Regions from separate parts of the Homo sapiens genome. Here regions 1 and 2 are each linked to region 3. The links are contacts of gene promoters, found by promoter capture Hi-C in blood cells and fetal thymus (Javierre and others, 2016). All regions are on one chromosome and are shown on one strand. Each heading gives the region's core, a stretch centred on a gene start or on the middle of the fragment in contact. The rest is flanking DNA. Distances are from core to core; before and after follow the strand shown. Region 1 overlaps PXK (PX domain containing serine/threonine kinase like). Region 2 overlaps PDHB (pyruvate dehydrogenase E1 subunit beta). Region 3 holds the start of ACOX2 (acyl-CoA oxidase 2).

The links. The method cuts DNA at HindIII sites, captures the fragments that hold promoters and counts their contacts. A CHiCAGO score of 5 or more calls a contact.
Region 1: a contact is called between a fragment that was not itself captured here and the fragment with the promoter of ACOX2 in region 3, in 3 of 17 cell types (M0 macrophages, M2 macrophages and monocytes). The highest score is 7.0, in M0 macrophages.
Region 2: a fragment that was not itself captured here is called in contact with the fragment with the promoter of ACOX2 in region 3 in 6 of 17 cell types (M2 macrophages, M0 macrophages, monocytes and 3 more); the score reaches 9.8 in M2 macrophages.

The regions. Positions count from the first base shown.
Region 1 is chr3:58,411,088-58,413,787 of GRCh38, forward strand. PXK (PX domain containing serine/threonine kinase like) reads left to right here. Exons shown (of 18, transcript NM_017771.5): 17 at 1,814-1,876. Among named protein-coding and RNA genes, the nearest start is that of PDHB, 21 kb to the right of the region's middle. The HindIII fragment of the contact is 1,447 bases long and covers 690-2,136 here.
Region 2 is chr3:58,427,211-58,429,910 of GRCh38, forward strand. PDHB (pyruvate dehydrogenase E1 subunit beta) reads right to left here. Exons shown (of 10, transcript NM_000925.4): 8 at 2,498-2,589; 9 at 1,263-1,404; 10 at 420-969. The coding sequence ends at 824. Among named protein-coding and RNA genes, the nearest start is that of PDHB, 5.3 kb to the right of the region's middle. RefSeq lists an enhancer at 2,316-2,395. The HindIII fragment of the contact is 7,139 bases long and covers 1-2,700 here.
Region 3 is chr3:58,535,756-58,538,455 of GRCh38, forward strand. ACOX2 (acyl-CoA oxidase 2) reads right to left here and starts at 1,435. Exons shown (of 15, transcript NM_003500.4): 1 at 1,364-1,435. LOC107984079 (a long non-coding RNA gene) reads left to right here. Exons shown (of 3, transcript XR_001740724.2): 1 at 1-559. The HindIII fragment of the contact is 2,666 bases long and covers 1-2,402 here.

The DNA of each region.
Region 1 (2,700 bases), core at 163-2,662, 120 kb before region 3:
AGAGATGTTTAGAAGGGAGGAAATTGGGGATATTCACAGGTCATGCCTCAGTCTTCTCAGTGAAGTCAGGGAGGAGAATGTCTGCCTGGGGCGGGAGGAGAAAAGTGTACAAGATGATTAGGCTGCAGCCCAGAGGGCTGCATGAGCCACAGCTGGAGAATGCAAGTGGCATGACCAGAGCTGGAGATTGGCAGCCCTGAATAGAGAAAGCCCATAAACTCCAGAAGGAGAGTGAGAGTCACATTGACACCACTGCAGAGTCCAGACTGGAGAAGGGCTCAGGAAGAGCTGCAAAGGAGAGGAAGGAGGGGTGGTCCCAATGAGGACCAGCGCAGGCTCCTTGGGGGTGAATGCTGTTGTGGCTGGTGGGTAGTTTCAGTTGGAAGCCTATCTTCGCCATGGTTGATGGGAGGGACATGGACCGGTCATGGTCATTATTATACTGAGACTCATGATTCCAACCAGCAGTCATTCTGTCCAGTAGCTAATTTTTTATAGAGCAGAGAAAGCCTGACAGTGTGCTCTCTACCTTCTAAGACCCTGCCTGCCTGCAAAGCTGTGTCACATGAAGCCAGGTAGGACTCAAGGACTTCAGGATACCCCAGTGCCCTCAGGAGTTTAGGAAAATGAAGTAGCAGTTGATGGATATATACAGATAATTCCCAAACTTTACTGGAGTCAAGCAGTGAAGCTTCTCCCCATTAAAGTTCATTAGCACTACGAACAGTATAAAGACAGCATGCATTGAGTTTTACCTCCTTTTTCAGTAAAACACCCTCATATTTTATAGGGAACTGAGGGAATATTGCAAGTAGAAAAGCATTAAACTGGAGGGAGGTGTGGTTTAATCAGGACATTTCTCATCATGGCCAGTGTCCATGAGACACCAACATGTCCTGTGGGTAGTGAGGGAAGTGATGGCTGGGGCCTTAACCACACCAGCTCTGGTGGCTTCTCAGGCGTGTGATGGCAGCCCTCTGGGTGTGTGTGCCCATCAGCCCAGAAAGCACCTGACTAGGGAGATTTGGTTAACCTCTCCATAGGATCTCTATGTGTGGGAGGGGGGTTTCTGTGTCCACAGAAAGGCTTACGTAGGAACCTCTGCTCATTGGGCTACTTCATGTCAGCTCAGGAAGATATTTTCTAGGGATCGCCAAGTAATGGGGAGATGCTGAGAACTTGGGAATATTTGAAATATAATAAGGTTACTAGATCCAGAAAAAGCATGCAACAGGTGGGATTCACATTGTTTTAATGTGAATAAGGACATTTACTTATTCTAGATAAGAAAAGGGCTGTGAAATCCATAAACTGAATAGACTGACCCTATCTAGTTGATTCTACCTGCTGATAAAATGGAACTTCGGCAGAATGCGTTACTGGGTGGATGCTGTACGGGGCACTCCCTTCCTTTGGAAGCCCCCAGCAGGCTGCTCTGCACCTCTCTGTCTGCTGTACCACTTGTGGCTTCTGTCATTTGTCATTACCCAGGAGTGGAGGTTGCGTCAGGAAGAGATACTGCAGCCAATTGCCTAAGCTGTTGATGGTGCAAAGTTTCAAACCAGGCAGGCCATGGGGAGCAGTGGGAGGCAAGGAGCTTTTAGTGGCTTGGGGAAGGAGGTGGACCCTGCACCAGAGTAAAAGCCTGTCACTGGGTCCGGTCTCTGAGTTTTTTGTCCCTCATCATCTTGTTTCACAAGGCTCACACACTAAGCCAAATGTAGATTCTCAGACAGCAGTGGGTCCCAGCCTGGGCCAAATTCCAAATGTCTTTCGTTGGTCCCCATGAGGGTTTCTCTGTGTTTTATCTTAGCAGGATCTGGGGCCAGCTCACCTCTCACGTCCCCGTCATCGCCAACTCCACCCTCTACATCAGGTTAGTGATGGAGTAAAGTGACATGCCACCTTCCTGTCCGCCAACAGGAGGAGCGGGCTGTGCCTCTTCCTGCCTTGGCCCAACAATTTCAGGGGTTAGATAGCAGCAGCTTTCTCAAGAGAAATCAGTGGGAGTGCAAATTAGCAGTGTCATTTGGGAGAGCTGAGGGGCTAGATTTCCAAGCTCGGCTTTCACAGGGAATGGACCGGTTTCAGGGCCACTAGCCACCCCCGGGCTCCAGCTTGCTGTCTTTGCTGAAAAGCTTCATGCAGAGCTTCTCAGATTGGAGCCTGTCTTGGTACATGCTTAGCTGAACAACACAAATGCGCCGTGGCCCAGGGGTCCCGTCCTGCCAGGCCTCTCTCCTCAGGGAGCCCGTCCATAGGGTCAGTTTTGTCACAGAGCACAACTGGTAAGATGCCTAGGTGGAGGAGTGAAAGAGTCACTGCGTTTCTGATTTTCTGGCAACGATTTGACTCTGTTTTGCTCTGTAATGTATTTAATTATCTGAATATTTTTCTGTTATTAGCCTTTGCTTCACTTTTGTAAATTAGATACTAGTTTTGATTGAAAAATGTAAAAAGAATTTATCTTGGAGACTGCTTATAAAAATAATCCCCAATTTTGTTGAGTAGCCCCATAATACTATCTTTTATTTTTGAACCAAGATGTCTCTCCTAAAGTCTTTTGCAAGCCCAATAAAAACAATTGGGACACCAGTATCTCCTTTTGCTTCTTAAATGAACCAGTTGTTCCAGATGTGCGAGGAGCTGCTTCTGCCACTCAGAGCTTGCTGGCTGTGCCTGGAAGGGTTCCTACAAGCT
Region 2 (2,700 bases), core at 70-2,569, 110 kb before region 3:
TGTTAGCCAGGATGGTCTTGATCTCCTGACATCATGTTCTGCCCGCCTTGGCCTCCCAAAGTACTGGGATTACAGGCATGAGCCACCACGCCCAGCCCAGCCAATTCTTTCAATATAAAAATACAATAGTCATGGCCAGGTGTGGTGGCTCATGCCTGTAATCCCAGCAGTTTGGGAGGGCCAAGGCAGGTGGATCACCTGAGGTCAGGTGTTCAAGACCAGCCTGGCCAACATGGTGAAACCCCACCTCTACTAAAAACACCAAAATTAGCCGGATGTGGTGGCTAATTTCCTACTGAGGCTGAGGCAGGAGAATCACTTGAACCTGGGAGGTGGAGGCTGCAGTGAGCCAAGATTGTGCCATCACACTCCAGCTTGGGGAACAGAGCCAAACATTGTCTCAAAAAAAAAAAAATTAGTCATGTTAGAAATTCCTTTATTCCTTATCAAAACAAACTAACAGTAAATGTATATTATATGCTTTAATTTTATACATATAAGTTATCTTGTTTGGATACATCTTTCATGAGGACTCTGCCACATCCATACTTTGTCCTTGTGGTGAGAGAGGATAAAATGTTATATAATTTGTTATTCAAAGAACATGGCAACCGTAACAGACAAAAGGAAGCATGGCATCTAGGGGAGGAGAGTGGAGAGTTTTCCATACACAAACACATTTAAACTTCCCTGTACAAAAATACCTGCTGTTGCTTTAGAAATCGTTTTCCGTTATGAATAGTCAGGTCTTGCAGTACAAATCCAGGTGCAGTGCCAGCAAGTATTTCAAATAAATTTCAACGACTTGATATTCAAGTCCAAACTAAATATTTAATGTTTTCTTTATTGCAAATATGATGTCTTTGACCTGAGGTATAGAGTTGTCCTCTAGAATCTTTGCATAAGGCATAGGGACATCAGCACCAGTGACACGAACAGCAGGAGCATCCAGGAAATTGAACGCAGGACCTAGGAGAAGGAAGGCTCAACTGAGAGAGTGCAAATGCCAGCTGGGCACTACCACCTTGGCACAGAGGTGTGGCTGACCAGGAAGAGAAAATGTAAGGAATGCTAATTATGGGGAACCGCTTTCTGGATTTGCTTTTAAAAATATCTGCCTGAAGAGAAATGCCAAACTTACAAGTTTAAAGTTGAAGTCGTTTGGCCACTCCTAGCTTTCAATCTCTTTATCCTGTACGTATTCAGGTACATGATGTTTACTATAGCTTGACTGTATTCTAGAACCAGTTTCTTTGAAATACCTTCCATGATCCTGGCACAGATTTCAGCTCCTACTCCAAACTGTGGCCAGCCTCCTTCCACAGTTACAAGATGATTTGTCTTCATGACACTGGCTTCTATGGTTTCCATGTCCATTGGTCTAATGGTACGCATATTTATCACCTAAACAGGTAATATAATCAAGTTTACAGAGCTATTGCAGCACAAATAGAGCCTTATCCCCATAATACCATTTCCTTTTTTGTTTCCTGTTAATCTTTGTATCTAGGAAAATCTAATCTGCCTATGAATACCTATTCATGAATGTACAAACTGTAAAAGGAAAAATTTTAATTAAAACAAAGATCTGTATGTCTACCACAAGCAGCTCTGTGCAGTTATAGGATTCATTTATCTTCCTTCACTTTTTTATTTCTTTTGGGATGGAGTTTTGCTCTTGTTGTCCAGGCTGGAGTGCAGTGGCGTGATCTCGGCTCACTGCCACCCCCGCCTTCCCAGTTCAAGCCATTTTCCTGCCTCAGCCTCTGGAGTAGCTGGGATTACAGGCATAGACCACCACGCCTAGCTAATTTTTGTATTTTTAGTAGAGATGGGGTTTCAACATGTTGGCCAGACTGGTCTTGAACTCCTGACCTCAGGTGATCCACCACGCCCAGCCAATCCTCCTTCACTTTAAATTCCCTCATCAAAATGAGTTAACAGTTAACAGCTGAGTGCCCATCATGTACCAAGCACTACACTAAGTGTAATTCTCACAACAGCCCTATGACGGGACAGTATTTATATTATCCCTGTTTTATAGCTGATGAAACAGATTTAGAGTATATAACTTGCCCAAGTATAACTAGCACATGGTGAGTTTCTAAAAGATCCAGAACCTCAGAAGGGTGAGGTGGGAGCATCACTTGGGCCCAGGAGTTCACGGTTACAGTGAGCCATGATCCAGCCACTGCACTTCAGCCTGGGCAACAGAACAAAAGCCTGTTTTTTTCTCTCTCGGGGGGTATCACTGAGAACCAGAAGAGGTTCAGAGAGCTCCCACTGTCTCTCAAAAAAAAAGATCCAGAACCTAAGTGACCTGAGTGGTAAAAAGCTAAGTATGTGAACTGCAGGCAGGTTCCCAGCTTTAAGCAGAGACAGAAATGAGTGACAAAGCAAGGTTTTACATCTAATTAACCTGTTACAGAACTCTTCTGGGTCTTAAATCTAAAAGGAGCCCTTCTAATTCTTTAAGAACAAGTAAATGTCCACTCACCTCACATTCAACTCCTTCTTTAGATAGCACTGCTGCAGCTTCTAAGCAGTGGCCCACAGGTCTTGAATGGGAAACCACAGTTATATGTGTTCCTGAAAACAGAGTGGTCACAGATCAGAGATCAGGTTGAAACTGAAGATGCTACACCACTGTGCCGCCAGCTGTGGCTCTTGTTCATTCATAAAGTCTTCAATTCAACTTCA
Region 3 (2,700 bases), core at 185-2,684:
CCCTGGAGCCCCTGAGTGTCTTTCATACCCAGGTTGGACCCTGTCTCCTTCATGGCAAGTGCTTGGCCTCTGAGAAGCCCCTATTCCTCCACAGTGAGGCAACCATGAGGTGCAGTCCATCCTATTTCACAAGTCTCTTGAGTCCATCTGCTCCTTGCTATCTCTTTGGCTAGCATCCAGGCCACTGTTATCTCTTACTTGGCCTCAGTGTTCCTCTTATTTGTTCTCCCAGCTGCCAGGTGAACTCTTGAACTGCAAATCACATTGTTTTCCTCTCCTGCTTGGAATCTGCTCCTTGGGGCCCACTGTTTGTGGAATGGAGTCCTTGCTGTGTCTACCCAACCCTACTCCACTCACCTCTCTCCTATGTCAACTTACTGCCCTCATCCCTGGCCTCCACTCATTCTCTTCCTACCCTTTGCCCCTGCTGTTCTCTCTGAACAAAGTTCAGCTCCCTCGTTCCCTGGGTGCTCTAGGGTTAGGGACAAGTTCTTATTTGCTTACATGTTCCTCCCACAAGGCCTGGGAGGCCAGCTCTGCATTTCCTAGCTTGCAGCAGGTATGTTGTAAATCTCTCCGGCAGGCTGCCATGCTTTTGATCCCCTTCCTTCCTGACCTCAACCTGACAGATGCACTGCTGTTATTACCATTTTATGGAGAGGATGTGGGCCTTGGAAAGGGAGGAGACTTTATAAGGGTCATGCAACCACATGTAGCAAATGATTCATATGAGGCTTTCAAACCAATACCCCCAGCAGGGCTGTGGGGGTGCTGGCAAGGGGCCCCATCCTCTGCCCCCCGGAGTCCTGCAAGTGCCCCTAGTGCGGCTCCTCTCGTCCTGCCTTACCTCTTTTCCTTGCTCTGCTGCCACTGCCTCCTTGCTGTTCTGAATGCTCCAGGCCTCCCTGCCACTGCCAGCATTTGCTAGGGCATCTCCATCTGCCCAGAACACCCTTTCTTCAAATGTCACTAGGGCTTTTTGCATTGAACCTCATTTAACCTTAAAGAGGCCACCCTCTTTAAAACCCCAAGCCCCCTCCCCCGGCATTCCCTGTCCTCCTCACTCTGCTCTCCTTTTTCTCTTTTCACTTATCCCCTTCTGACATTTGAGATCATTTACTCATTTCATATGTTTTTGTTTACTTCCATCTCCCTGCTACTAACACAGAAACTGCAAGAGGGCCGGGATCTTTGTCACTGTCATGCCGTGACCCTAACACTTAGTGCAGGGCCTGATTTGCAGGAGGTGCCCAGTGAAGAAAGCCTTGCTCAGGGTCTCTCGGAGCTGCGGACAGGGTCATCATGGGGGCAGCCCTCTCCTCTGGGGTCTCCCAGTCCCTCCCTGCCCAAAAACCTGGCTCACCTGGCTCCCCTCTGTCCTGTGTCCGCACTGTAGGCCGGGCTGGCCTCTCCCCGGCTGTAGGCCGCAGCCTCTGGCAGGCTTGTGGTCCTGCCCTTCTCTCCTCCCACATAGGGGCTGGAACACAGAAGCTGAGAGAAACTGCTTGGCCAGCTCTCAAGCCCTTGTCTGCTCTCAAGCCCTTGTCTGCTCTCAAGCCCTTGTCTGCTCTCAAGCCCTTGTCTGGGCTTATGGAGCTCCTCTCCTTCCTCCCTCTCTTCCTGCATGGGTGTGACCTTTGTGCCTGTCGCTGGGGCTGCCCTGGGAGGACTTCTGGGAGGTTGGAGCCCTTACATCTCAAAGCCAGGGATTCCTTTGACACTACTTGTACCAAAAAGCTGTGTACCCCAGCAGTGTTTCCAAAGTGATATCCTGGTCTTCCCTGATCTTTCACTGTGTGCCCTTCAGGCACTCAAGCTGTTAATATCACACGAGCTTAATAGGCTCCCCTGAGATGGTCCTCATGTGAAAGGATTGCTCTGTAAGGTGTACGTTTTTCCTCTCTCCCCATGTTTCTGCTCTAAAATATGGCTTGTCTTATGCTTAGCATCCCCTGACATTCCCTGGAAAAATATTTGTGAAGCATCCATCTGTAGTGTGTGGGATCCAGATGAGAGCTGGGTCTTAGTGAGAGGAATGAGAGGCTTAGAGGTTCCCTCCCTGCATAACCACCTTGGAAAGTCAGATGCGGCTCCCCATTTTGCAGGTAAGGAAACAGGCTCAGGGAGGGATGTCACTTTGTTTGGGTTTGCACAATAAGTAGATTACGTAACACATTTGTGTAAGACTGGGAAAGAAATCAAGGGGCCAGTAGGAGATCAAGGCTCCTGTTCTGGCAGGACTTCTGAGCTATGTTGACTCTGAGCAGGTGTACTCCTTTCTGGGCCTTGGCCTCCCCTGTAATGCAAGGTATTTGCTCAGTAAGGAGCCTCACAGCACCCCATCATATCCCCAAGGTAGTGTCTAGCTTGTGTCTGTAGGAAGAGGCAGGACCTGTGGCCCAAGCTTTGCAACTTATCACCTAGTAGGTCCTTCTGGAGCTGTGGGGCTCAGACTCCTGGCAGTCCTCATTGCTGTGGGCAGTGGTTTCAGGGAAGGTGGTCTTGGCCCCACTGTTTGGAGGTGAAAGTTCTTACTTACACCTGGACTCATCTCCGCCAAGGATTTATGCTATCACTGACCATGGGCAATGACTTAGTTCCTCTCTGCCATAGAGAAAGGCTTGGATTGCAGGAAGTGCCCAGTGAAGAAAGCCTTGCTCAGGGGCCCTTGGAGCAAGGCTTTTTAATAAACTCTCCATG